4 separate regions of the Homo sapiens genome follow, and regions 1, 3 and 4 are each linked to region 2. Evidence: promoter capture Hi-C in 16 types of primary human blood cells and fetal thymus (Javierre and others, 2016). All regions are on one chromosome and are shown on one strand. Each heading gives the region's core, a stretch centred on a gene start or on the middle of the fragment in contact. The rest is flanking DNA. Distances are from core to core; before and after follow the strand shown.

The links. The method cuts DNA at HindIII sites, captures the fragments that hold promoters and counts their contacts. A CHiCAGO score of 5 or more calls a contact.
Region 1: the fragment with the promoter of ETV7 here is called in contact with the fragment with the promoter of CPNE5 in region 2 in 5 of 17 cell types (erythroblasts, total B cells, naive B cells and 2 more); the score reaches 7.0 in erythroblasts.
Region 3: the fragment with the promoter of STK38 here is called in contact with the fragment with the promoter of CPNE5 in region 2 in 2 of 17 cell types (naive B cells and total B cells); the score reaches 6.2 in naive B cells.
Region 4: a contact is called between the fragment with the promoter of PXT1 here and the fragment with the promoter of CPNE5 in region 2, in 4 of 17 cell types (total B cells, monocytes, neutrophils and 1 more). The highest score is 8.9, in total B cells.

The regions. Positions count from the first base shown.
Region 1 is chr6:36,386,034-36,389,174 of GRCh38, forward strand. It overlaps ETV7 (ETS variant transcription factor 7), which reads right to left and starts at 1,636. Exons shown (of 8, transcript NM_016135.4): 1 at 1,503-1,636. The coding sequence starts at 1,508. It overlaps ETV7-AS1 (ETV7 and PTX1 antisense RNA 1), which reads left to right and starts at 587. Exons shown (of 2, transcript XR_926758.3): 1 at 587-897. RefSeq lists an enhancer at 707-1,530 and a silencer at 1,657-1,866. The HindIII fragment of the contact is 3,834 bases long and covers 796-3,141 here.
Region 2 is chr6:36,837,615-36,840,773 of GRCh38, forward strand. It overlaps CPNE5 (copine 5), which reads right to left and starts at 1,830. Exons shown (of 21, transcript NM_020939.2): 1 at 1,669-1,830. The coding sequence starts at 1,763. RefSeq lists a silencer at 2,294-2,503. The HindIII fragment of the contact is 11,867 bases long and covers 1-3,159 here.
Region 3 is chr6:36,546,130-36,549,315 of GRCh38, forward strand. It overlaps STK38 (serine/threonine kinase 38), which reads right to left and starts at 1,350. Exons shown (of 14, transcript NM_007271.4): 1 at 1,061-1,350. RefSeq lists an enhancer at 885-1,408 and a silencer at 1,156-1,495. The HindIII fragment of the contact is 2,076 bases long and covers 567-2,642 here.
Region 4 is chr6:36,441,429-36,444,392 of GRCh38, forward strand. It overlaps PXT1 (peroxisomal testis enriched protein 1), which reads right to left and starts at 1,426. Exons shown (of 5, transcript NM_152990.4): 1 at 1,107-1,426. KCTD20 (potassium channel tetramerization domain containing 20) reads left to right here and starts at 1,572. Exons shown (of 8, transcript NM_173562.5): 1 at 1,572-1,683. RefSeq lists enhancers at 1-440, 1,925-2,024, 2,630-2,689 and silencers at 247-316, 1,475-1,764. The HindIII fragment of the contact is 5,749 bases long and covers 1-2,964 here.

The DNA of each region.
Region 1 (3,141 bases), core at 386-2,885, 450 kb before region 2:
AATAAACAAATAGACCAGGTGCGGTGGCTCACACCTATAATCTCAACACTTTGGGAGTCTGGGGCGGGTGGATTACTTGAGGTCAGGAGTTTGAGACCAGCCTGACCAACATAGTGAAACATTATCTCTACGAAAAATACAAAAATTAGCCGTGCGTGGTGACCGGCGCCTGTAATCCCAGCTACTCAGGAGGCTGAGGCAGGAGAATCACTTGAACCCGGGAAGCGGAAGTTGGAGTGAGCCAAGATCACGCCACTGCACTCCAGCCTGGGCAAGAGAGCAAGACTCCGTCTCAGAACAAACAAACACTATTTTCAAAAGAGAAAAAGAAAGGATAAGGATACATTTCTGAATCCTAAGGTCTCACCACGGGAAGCCTGTATCTTTACAATTCAACAATCAGCATGGCCCCCAGAGATGACGGGGTTCATCCATTCAGATGAGAAAATGAAGAAAGTGGCAGGATTTTGTAGGAATAGGAAGCTCCTTCGGGCTCATGCCCAGCCACAGGCTGCCACAGCACGGAAAGGAAAAGTGAAACCAGCTCCATCAAGTCATTTTTCACTCTAGGATTGTCAAAAGCTTTACATTCATCTCTTGGGATCCGAGGAGAGATATCTGCCGAGAGAGAATTTGGATCGGAGCCAGCAAAGCAAACTCCAGAAGCCTTGGCTGCTGCGAAAGGGGATTCAACACCTTTCCGGGTCGTTCTCACTTCATTTCCAGCCGGTCCCCCTTTGGTGCTGTTTCCCAAGTAATCAGACCTCAGGGGTTGCCTCCTGGTGGGGAAAGGGAAGCTTGCCTTGCTGGAGAAGGGGCTCAAGGCACAGGACTTGCCTCGGACTTGCCAAGGAGGCTTGCAGGAGGCTCTTTGTCTACTCCTCTGTCCTCATCCAAGTAAGAGGAGCGGGGAATTCCGAGGCTGTAACTGCCTGGGAAACGCCAGCCACGGAGCTGCTGAGGATCAGACTCCTGGGTTTCAGCATGGAGGCCAGGGAAGGGTCTGATAATGGGTATGGGTCCTGGCGAGAGGGGAGTGGAGAAAGGCCTTGGAGTGGGACGGGGCGCCAGCTCTGGGGGCAGTCTCGAGGCACCTAGAAAACCGGCGAGTGGGGAGAGGCTGCTAAAGAGGGGCTCCCTGCGAGAATGCGTTCACCAGCTGTGAGGACCTGGCTGGCGCACGAACTTCCAAAGACCTCACATCTGGTTGGTGTAGGGGCGACCAGTGGTAAGGGGGCTGCGGAAAGGGCCCGCAGGGGCTGTGCGTGATGCCTTCAGAGCTGTGTATGACACCGAGAGAGTCAGGGGCGGTGACCCGCGTCTGGAGGTGGAAGGGGAAGTGAGTGAGGGATGGATGTGAGGTTTAGGAATGTGTTGGAAAGAGAGATTCCCGCCAGGTAAAAGGTCTGATAAAATAGGTTTGGAAATCTAGGTGGTGAGGAAAGGATGCGGGAGCAGGTGGCTCTGCGTGCGCGCTGCGTGTTCAGCCGCCAGGCTCTTACCTGCATTACAGGTGGAGGTGAGGAAGCCACCGGCTTTCTGTCTTGAGCGCTCCCCTGGCTGTGGCTGCTGGGGCCCTAGGCCCGCGCCCCGCAGTCCTCCTCCGCCAAACCCCTAACCTGGCTCCGAGAACTGGAAGGTCGCGTGGGAGGAAATCTCTTTCGAGAAGCGCCAAGGCGTGTGCGCCCGGGTCCTCCGCAGGCGGGCAGGCGCGCGAGGCGCTCCGGTAATCGCTATCCTTCCGGGAAACGAAAACGAAAGAGCGGGATGCGGTTCCACTTGCGCCGCTGCGGGCTAGGAGCAGGGCAGGGCAGGGCAGGGGCCGGCCCCGTGGGAGCGCAGCACCGGGGCGCTGCCCGCTCGCTAGCCTGGGAGGCGTGGGTCCTGCACACAGCCTCCAGCCGGCGGACAGTCCCTCTGGCGACCTGGCCTTGGCTCCCACTGGGGCAGAGCCGGGATTCTGCAGGATCTGAGGATCTAAGGGGACCCCTAGTCCTGAACTCGGAACCAACTGCGTCTCTCACGGTCCCGAGCCCAGGACCAGGAAGGACCCTGTGAGTCTCCGCACATAGGATAGGAAGGGGCCTCGCATGGTGCCTCTCCCTTTAGGGGTGAGTGACCTTCCCGGCCCCGATACTGTCTCGGCCTGCCGTTTGGCCCCGCTGAGGCCCCACAGGTCCGGAACCGTCGCACCACCATCAGAGCGGCTGTGCTCTCCTGAGCAGGGCCAGACTACTCGGAGATCCCGACTGACACCTTTTCCTGGGCCTCTGGGTGCTCCGGGGTTGGTGCCTGCCCACCCATCACCCTTTCCATCTGTCTCAGCTCCCCCTGTCTCAAGAGAGGTTGTGCGCATAAAAACAAACCAGAAGACACCGAAGAAAAGGAAAGAAAAGCATTAACAACCTTCTGCTGAAAATCTGAGGGTGTAGACGCTGTTACAAAGTAGGCTTAGCACTGGTATATCATCACAAGCTCTAGGCCAGCAATAAGAAACCAGTAAGAACAAGGCCAGAAACCCAGTAGGAAAAAAAAATGAGCAAAGGATATGAATAAACAGTCCACATAAAAGGAAATGCCAAATGGCTCCTGAATATACAAAAAGATGCCCAGGGTGCAGTGGCTCATGCCTGTAATCCCAGCACTTTGGGATGCCAAGGTGGGAGGATCGCTTGAGCCCAGGAGTTGGACACCAGTCTGAACAACATGGTGAGATCCTGTCTTTACTGAAAATTTAAAAAATTAGCCGGGCATGGTGGGGCTACACCTGTAGCCCCAGCTATTCAGGAGGCTGAGGATGGAAGATCGCTTGAGCCTGAGAGTTGGAGGCTGCAGTGAGCCGTGACTGTGCCACTGCACTCCAGCCTGGGCAGCAGAGAAAGAAAAAGATGCTCAGACAAACTCACTATTTTAAATGTGCAAATTAAAGTTATTCTGAGATAGAAATTTTTACCCATAAATTTGGCAAAAATTTAAAAGTTTACTAACATAATCTGCTGGAAAAGCTGAGGTAAAGTGGTGCAACCCCACAGCGGGGTCTGGCAAATTTACAAATGCATTTTCCTTTCACCCAGCAATCTGCCTACCAGAAATTTATTCAACAAATATCCAAAGTATACATAGTTACTTATTTAATCATGG
Region 2 (3,159 bases), core at 580-3,079:
CAGAAGACAATGATTTGAGCTGTGTGTCTCATGGGTGAGAGGATGCCTGAAAGTGGGGAGCGTGAGGCCAGGCTTTTCAGGAGTGGGGGGATCATGAACTTGGGGAGATAAAGGAAGAGTGAAATCTGGATGGGGAATGGGCTGTTCAGAGGCTTGGAGGTGGGAAGGATCCCAAGACAACTGAAGATGACAGGCATGATTGAAGGCTGGGAGGGAGTGCCAGGCGCAGGGATGTGCGTGCAGGAGAAGGGTGGGGAGGCCGTGCTGCTTTTGATGGCTGAGGAGGTGAGACTGGAGCTAATGGGCCATCAGGAATCTCCCAGCAGAGTAATGACAAGATGCAAATGGCGTTGGGAGATGATCCTGACGGCATGGTGTATGGGACCTGGGAGCTATCACAGGAGCCCCCAGAGGGCCTGGCTTAGGGGGGAAGCTACGTTCAACCAGACTAGCCTTCACTGCCACTTATCCCCAAGTCTTCAAGAGAAAGTCACACTGAGTCCTTCCCTCCTTCACGCCCCTGCCCAGACTCTCCAGCTCTACCTACACCTCATCAATGCCACAACTTTGTAATACAGGACTGGGGGGCAACAAGGTTACCTCTCATGGAGGGTCTGACCAAGGAGCAACCTGGAAGAGGATGAGATGGGTGATTTCGAACAAGGGCACAGCCAGGGCTCCAGAAATGCTGTCGGTGATCTGGGGCAGGGGGCATGGCCTCTGTGGGGGAACCTCAAAGTGGGTGATGCTTGCGTGGCAGCACATGATCCTAGGCCAGCCACAGAGAGACTGAACTAGGGAAAAATCCCCCTTTGCCACCCATACCCTCTTACTGCCAGGGGCAGCCTTCCCCTAGCTAGGAGAACCTGGGGTCGACCCAGCTCTTAGACAGAGAAGTTACCCCCAAACCCTGTGTGACATGAGTGAAGATTTGGGCGTGGTAGCCCACAAAAATATTCCCCCTCCTCCTCTGTTGGACTCTACAGTTTCACAATCAGTGTTCTATTCCTTTGGCTTAAGATTTTTGACCCAAGTTATTTTTTTAATGGTGCCACTTTAAGTTGTTATCATGTATCCACACCTTAGTATGAATGAGTCAATCTGATCCTTTTCCAGGAGTCGATTTCGTTGTTGATAGAGATGAAGGAAGGCTTTAAAATCCTAGAGTCTAGGACAGTGGGGTGGGGGAGACTGGTGAGGGGAGGATCAGGATGCTGGGGCAAAGAAGGGGCAAAGAGAGAAGAGAGGAGGGCACAGAAGGGAGAGGGTGGACGAGCCTGGGAGGGATGGGGGCAAATCACTCACTTCGTGATTTGGGGATGGGGTGATCAGAGATAGCCTGAGCAGAGACCGTAGTACAGCCTTTTACCAACTCCCTCTCCCCACTTGGGTGCCTGGACCCCCTGTTCCTGTGTCTTCATATCTCCTCGATGCAACAGCCTGGAGCGCAAACTTTCTGGGATATGACCCCAGCCTGGCTTCCTATTCTGCCGTCGCCACCCGCAGCTGGACAGGACAGGGGCTCTTGGCAGATCGGCAGGGGCGCAGTCCTGGAGACCAGGACACTCTGGGAAGGGGGCGCGCGGAGGTTTAGGATCGAAGCGGCAGGGGCCGCGGGGCTCTGCGTCCAGGGCCGGGGCAAGGGGACCCGGCCAGCGGGAGGCTCACCTGCAGGACACGGTGATCTCCACCTTGGTGGCCGGGATGCTGCCCGCCAAGGAGTCGAACTCGCTCAGCGACGCCATGTCCTCAGGCTGCTCCATCGCCCACCGCACCCCCCACCCCAAATTAGTCAATCCCTGCGCGATTCACGCCTCCTCCGGAGCGACTGGAGCCCTGGGCTCTCCCCCAACTCCAGAGCCTGGGCTGGGCGGCAAGGGGAGGAGAGAGGAGCGCGAAGAGGGGGCGTGGGAAGTGAGAGAGGGAAGAGGGCGGAGGGAGCGGGGGCCGCGGATCGAGGAGGGGGCTCGGGTGACGCCGCGAGGAGGCTAGGGGCCCAGTGGGGAAGGGCAAGGAGCCCAGGGAGCGGGGGCACAGCGGGGAAGGCAGAGAGGGGCGCGGGGAGAGGGGCTCGGGGAGAGGGCACCGGGAGGGAAACGCGGAGTCGTGGAGAGGGGCACCAGGAGAGGGACGCGCGTCTGTGGGCAGAGGTAGAGGGGATGCAGAAGACAGGGAGAGGGGCGTGAGGAGCGGGAGGCGCCGGATGGGGCGCTGGCGGCGGGGGTGGCGGGGCGCCGGCAGCGCGGAGCCCGAGCGCCCGGGCTGCGCCGCCTCTCCCTGGGTCTTGGCGCCGGCGGCGACGGGGCTGAGACGCGGCTGCGAGCGCCACCTCCTCGGCTCGGGCTTCGGCTCCGGGGCGCCCGGGCTGCGGGAAAATCAAATCTGCCCGAAGCCGCAGCCTCCCGCCGCCCGGGAACGCCAGAGGGGGCGCCCGCAGGGGCCGGGGCGGGGCCGCGGGCGGGGTCTGCGCGCAGGGTGAGTGTGAGCGTGTGTGTGTGCGCGTGTGTGTGTGTGTGCGCGCGTGGCGGGCCGGGGGACGCGGTCCAGATGCTGGGGACGTGGCGGGTGACAGCAAGAGGTGGTCCTGGTCGCGCGCATCTTCATTTGCGCCCGCCCCCTCTCACCACCCCTATCTCCCATCAGGGGTCTCCATCCTGGGGGAGGGGGAGGGTTATGGGAACCAACGGGCGCCTTTTTGAGAAAGGTCTATGCAGGGTTGAGAGGGGGCATAAGTGGGAGGGAGGTGTGCAAAAAAGATCCCCTCCCAGGGGCTTGGGTGTGGAGGGTCTCTGCTGAGTGTGCGCCCTACTCGGGGGCGGGTCTCAGTTCAGAAACAGACCCTACATCTCCTTCTGGGGAGGTGTGTGGGGGCGACCCCAGTGCCAGGAGGGACTACCTCGGTTTCCCAGTGGCCCAGGTGGGGTCGGTGCATGGGCGCCTCCCCCATCCGTGGTTCCCGCCAGCCGCGGCCTCGCCAAGTCGGCTGCCGAAACCACGCGCCAGCGCCCTTCCACTCCCCCGCCCGTCGTGACCACACGACTGAGCCAGCCTCCAGGTCTAGAAGCTCCTGCCACCCAGTCTGGTGGCAACCAGACTGGGAGATCGGCCCGAGCTCCCTGGGCTTCTATGCAGCCAGCACCGAGTAGGCGCGTGCTGTGT
Region 3 (3,186 bases), core at 100-2,599, 290 kb before region 2:
ACCTACACTAGAAAGCAAGCACCATGTCTTATACTTGTTTTAATATTCTTCCCCCATTTCATGCACAGTGCTATGCACTTAGCACCTTAAGAAAGATTAACTAGGAAATATACTCATTTTTGATGTCCATTCCTAGGAGTTTATGTGTGATGGGGGATAGGGCTGGGACATGAAATGGTTTGCTATAGCGTTCTCTCCTCTTAGGAGGAAGCTGGTATCTAACGTTTAGGGTGGGGAGGAGAGCCTGTTATCGAGGTGGTGGTTGTTTTATGTTTAGGGAAACCAAATATATTGCCTGGCTAATTCAGAGGCAGGGTGAGCTCAAAGGGTGGAGACACTCAGGGTCTACTTCACTCCAACCCTCCTCGGTGCATTTCAAACAGAACAAGTTTCTCTCCGAGTCTTTTAGTCGTTTCAGAATGAACTGAGAGATCTGGTCTCTCTGCCGGCCGTTCTGCCCGCTTTCTGACACAGACTTTCCTCTAAGCCCTTACCGACTTTTTCCTCTGGCTGTTGCTTTTCCACTCTCTTCTTAAGAATTTTCCCTGCCTTTTCCTGTGATTTGAAGCTTATCTGAAGCCCAGTATCCTAAGACTAACGGAGAAAGGAGCCGACTCAAAGATACCACACCCCAAGGGGGGCTTTCGACATCTCTGCCTCAGACCACAGTTCACAGACCCCAGAAGAAGGAAAAGGAGATAAAAACCGGTGATGACCGAGATCCCTGAGGGACTGACTGGTGGCAGGGAGCAGACAAAGGTGGCAACATGGAAAGGAAAGCCTGGCTCCCGCTCCAACTGCAAAAGGAGAAAGATAAAGGATGGGGTGGAAAGGCTGGGACTGGAAAAATGTGGAGAGGGCCAACAAGGGGCATCTGGAGACGGGGGAAGAAGGGGGTTAAGGAGAGGGGCGGAGAGAGGCCAAGAGGCTGAGAGGTTAGGGCTTGAAAGAGGGCGCCGGCGAGCAGGAGAAAGCCCAAGAAGGAGTCGGAGGTTGGGGAAGGAGGAGATAAAGGAAAAACCCCGGGATGGAGTGAAGACGGCGGCAGCAAGCAACTCACCAGAGCCCAGGGAGAGGCAGGGCTGGGGACGGCGGAGAGCCGCAGACGCCCCTTCGGCCAGTAGTCTCGACTTGAAGGCTGGCGAAGCCCCGGCGGCGGCAGCCAACGAGCCAAAGACGGGAGGGGACGCGTGAGGGACTCTGAGACAGGGGGCAACAGGCGGTTACGGGTGAGGACAACAGGAAGCGTTCCAACTGCCGGAAAAGACGCGAGCGCTGAGGGGCCAAGGCAGCCCGGTCCCCCGCCGCGGAGACGGGCTGGCGCGGCAGCCCGGGGCCGAGACTACGCATGCGCGACTTCCCGGAGCGGCCGGGATTGCGGAACTGCGCTTGCGTGGCCCCGCCCTGCCCCTCCCTTCACCCCCTGCCTAGGGCTGGCTGGACCTGGGTGAGGCCAGATGTGTGAGTGTGAGGCGGTCTCGAAGTAGGCTGGGCTGAGGGGGAAGTTCCATTGTTTTCTTTTGTTTTACTTTTTACTTCGAAATAATTATGGACTCACAAGAAGTTGCAAAATTAATACATACAGGTTCCCTATACCATCACCCACCCAGCTTACCTCAACATTTTTCTTAAGATACAACATTCTCAAAGCCAGGAAATTGACATTCGCACAATACAATTAACTAAACCAATACAATTAACTAAACCAATACAATTAACTTCATTACAGACCACACTCGGATTTAACCTGTTGGGTATGCAGTCATGTGCGTGTGTGTGAGTGTGTGTGTAGTTCTATGAAATGTTGTCACCTGTATAGTTCCCACCCACCCCCCTACCCCGTGTAGAACAGGTCTGCTGGAGCCCTTGGCCCCCCTCCTCTTCCTTAAAGTAAGGACCTTACCTGGGATAAGGTGAGCTCTCATAGGTTTGGGAGGTTACCCAGCGGGCGACCCAGTGTGGACAGAAGAAGGTGCTTTTCAAGGCCACCCAACTCTTATTCTGTACTACTTTTGGGGGTAAAGAGGTCCCAAGTTTAATAGCCTTTGGGCACTTGTCGTTTCTTGAGAATGGAGCACAAAGCCCTCAACTACAAAGTGTCAAGCTCCTGGAAACTAAGATGAACGAGACATGGTCCCTGACTGCCTGCAAAGGGGCCATCTAGGGAGAGAAGGAAGCATGTGCTGCGAGTTATTCATTCATTTCATCTTCAAAGCCCAGTTTCCTTTTGTCTAGCCTCTTAACAAAAATCACTTCTCGCCAGGCGCGGTGGCTCCTGCCTGTAATTCCAGCACTTTGGGAGGTCCAGGTGGGAGGATAGCTTGAGCCTAGGAGTTTGAGACCAGTCTGGGCAACATAAGGAGAATCCACCTCTAAAAAAATTTTTGTAATTGGCCAGCATGGTGGCAAGTGCCTGTGGTCCCACCTACTGTGGAGGCTGAAGCAGGAGGATTGATTGAGTCCAGGAGTTCAGGGCTGCTATGAGCCATGATCATGACACTGCACCCCAGCCTGGGCAACGGAGGGAGACCCTGTCTCAATCAGTCACTACATACATATCAATCAATCACTTCGCCTTTCATTCTCTCTGCCCAGAGGCCCTTCTCCCCAAATGCCTGTTGTCAAAGTCCTACCCATTCTTAAGCTTTTAATAATAGTCCAAGATGTCTGCATAATGCTTTACAGTTTACAAACAACTTTCACTTATTTAATCTCACTTGGTCCTCACTTTGGCAGTGACACACGAGGTTTTGCAGATGAAGTAATTGATACTTAGAGAAGCTAAGTGACTTGTCTGAATTCCCACGGCTAGTAAGCCAAGTAGCCAAGAGGGGAACCCCATTTTCTGTCTGCAAATCCAATGTTCTTTCTCCTCTTCTCTTTCCTCCTTCCAAAGCCCAGCTCAAACCTTATCTTCCTCCTGGAACTTTCCCAGTTTCAGAAGAGGAATTTCACTCTCTCTTCTCTCTTATATATATGTTTTTTTTGGTGGGGGGAGGGGGGTTGTTTTTGTTTTGTTTTGAGACGGAGTGTCGCTCTATCACTAGGCTGGAGTGTAGTGGCACGATCTCGGCTCACTGCAACCTCCACCTCCCAGGCTCAAGTGATTCTCCTGCCTCAGCCTCCTTAGTAGCTGGGACTACAGGACTACAGGCACGTGCCACCATGCCCAGCTAATCTTTTCTT
Region 4 (2,964 bases), core at 176-2,675, 400 kb before region 2:
GAGTCAGTCAGGTTGAGCCTGGTGACTAGTTCAGGACAGTGAAACGTCAGCAGAAGTGAAAAGGCCACTCACTTCTGGCAGAGGCAAAGGAGAGCCCTTACAGGATTCTCCAATCTAGCTCTTCTGCCAGCCCGGAAGTGCTGGGAGGGCAGAGCCACTGACGCAAGCAGCAGGGAAGCTGAGTCACCATGGGGACGTGAGACTGACTTACAGATGACGAGTGCAGCCTCACAGCCTAGTCCATGTTGAGATAAACACAATACAGTCCTGCATACTTTATAGTCATAAACGAGGGAGAATAGAAATGGAAAATGACCCTCTAGGCCTCTAAGACCAAATTATAATGAAAAAATTTATGTCTTCAGTTTTGAAAATTAAATTTTTTGACCCTGATAAAACAAATTTGCTATACAAGTATCCGTTAACCGTGTGAAACCTACTGAGTCAAACTATTTTCTTACATTCCTTCCACTTCAACACCAATTCTAATCCAATTCCAAATTAGTTTTCAGAGAGTCTCTTGTAAGGAAAAGGAGAATCGACTTCGAATTTTAAAATTTGTGCTATTATTAGTTTATAGAGCTTTCAACAATTTACAAATAGTTTGCATAATCAGTATATTTAATTAGTATATATAGACATATATATATATATTTGAGAGGGAACTTCACTGCAACCTCCCAGTTGCCTCCTGGGTTCAAGTGATTCTCCTGCCTCAGCCTCCCAAACAGCTAGGGTTATAGGCGCCCACCACCACGCCCGGCTAATTTTTGTATTTTTAGCAGAGACAGGGTTTCATCATGTTGGCCAGGCTGGTCTGGAATGCCCAACCTCAGGTGATCTGCCCGCCTCGGCCTCCCAAAGTGCAAGGATTACAGGCGTGAGCCACCAAGCCCGGCCTAGTGTAATTTTTAAAAGTACAAAAGCCACTAGAAACCGTGACAATAAGAACTTCCTTTTGGGTTTTCCAGCATTTGGTTCATAGGACATGGACCATATATAGATGTTTTTTGAATGCTGAAATCTTTTACTCATAACACAGTTTTCCCAGTAACTTGCTTCCGGTTGATTTAAAATTTGTAATACACCTTTGTAATAGCAGGTACCTTCATGAAACTCAGTATTTGAGAAAAATGTGGAGTTTTTCCCCCTTTCTTTTGGCCAGAATGTATATCCAGGGTAGTGACTTTCGAGCAAATGCGTTTAAGCAACTCCAGTATTCTTACTACGCTACCTCCAACCTCGCTCCACGCATGGGGAGATCAGGGTTCCACATTTTCGGGTAAGCATTAGCCGTCCTGGCGCTGCACGAGCGTATTCTACAATTCCGAAAACTACTAACTTTTCCGTCTGCAACCTTTAATAATTGAGAGGGTATGCGCAACTCAGAAAAGTGCGCCCGCTGAGGTTGGGTGCAGAGTGGACTGGAGGAAAGGCGACACCCATTTACGGTGCGGCCCCGGACGGGGTCCCCAGACACGGCCTTCCCGGCGTGCCACGCGCGGAGGGGACTCTTAACGTGAAGCGCTGGGTGACTCAGCCGCGTGGCCGCGCGGTCCGGGGCGGGGGGCGCGCGCCGCTGCGGCACAGCCGGTCCCGGCTGCGGCTTCTGGCTGCGCGGCCTGCGCGCGCCTCCCGGGCGGATTCCAGCCCCGAGCGGGACAGCGCGGCGGGGAGCGACGAGTAAGTGGCGGCGCGGTACGGTTTCGGGCGCGAAGACCGGGCAGGGAGAGTGTGGCGGCGGGCGTGGCCCGAGTCTTCCCTTTGTGGCCGAGGGGGCGTCTCCTCCGGACGCGGCGGCGGTTCGGACCCCCGAGTCGAAAGGCCGCGGGGCTGAGCTGGGCGCGAGGAACCTGTGGGCAGCGGCTTGATGGGCTCCTGTTTCCGCGCGGAGGGCAGAGTCTGGTGATCCTGGGGAGGGAGGCGACGCTGCGCCCAGGTGGTGGGCACAGCTGAAGTGTAACTTGACTGCTTGACTGCTTTTTGCAGGCCTCGGGTGGTTCATCCCGCCGGAGAGGAATGGCGAGAACCTGGAGTGTTGACTGGCAAAACATTTGCAGACGCGGTTTTTCTGGCAATTAATTGGCTCCATTAAAAATTAGGTAGTTGGTGGGGACTTCCTCCTGAACTCTGGAGCCGAGCGCATTTTGCTCGGTCTTTTCAGCCCTGTTTCCGCGTCTTCCTTCCCTGCCACCCGCAAATTGCCAGCTTTCATCCGTGGCTCTGAGTGCAAAAGAGCTGGGGAAAGCCTTAACCAGCAATTTTCTTTTAAATAAAACTTTGCTTTTTATAGCAGTGTCTTCAGGTTTAGAAGCCCAGTTCTGCACTATGAGAAAACTCTTCTATTTTGGAGTTTGTGATTCTTTCTGAAAATTCCTCAGTTGAAGAGATTTATTTTTAAATAAGAATCTAGTGAACAAACTAACATGATAAACAAGGCTGTGAAGGAACTGTTTAACCAGCTTATGAAAATATGTCCCAGAGTCCTTAGTTTTGTTCCTGTTCGCTGTGCGAGAAGTTGAGGTAGTTTTTTAATGGTCTTCAAAACAAAGTGTTGTAGTAGTGTCTGTCGGATGTGATGAATCCAGAGTCAGAGGACTTCCGCTCAAGGCCCCCACCTGAAACCCCAATTCCTAGGCCATAGTTCTGAAACAGAAGATTGTTCCTTAGTAATAAGGTTGCAGTACCCTAGCACCTCTTCCATAAATTTGATTCTAGAGATTTGTGATGGGTCCCTGAGTCTGGGATTTAAGCAAGCACCTGCACTCTTGGTCTGTTACTGATGATCCAGGGACCGACCACACGTTGACAGACACCACCTTTAGGCTGGGCTGGGAATTTTAAAAACTGCCCAACAGCCTTAACCCTTTGTCGATGTTTTCCTCCCCTGCCCTAAACCAGTCGTAGGACAAGAAGCCCTGACTCTCCAGAAGCCAATATGAGAAAAGATAGTGCTTTTTTTGA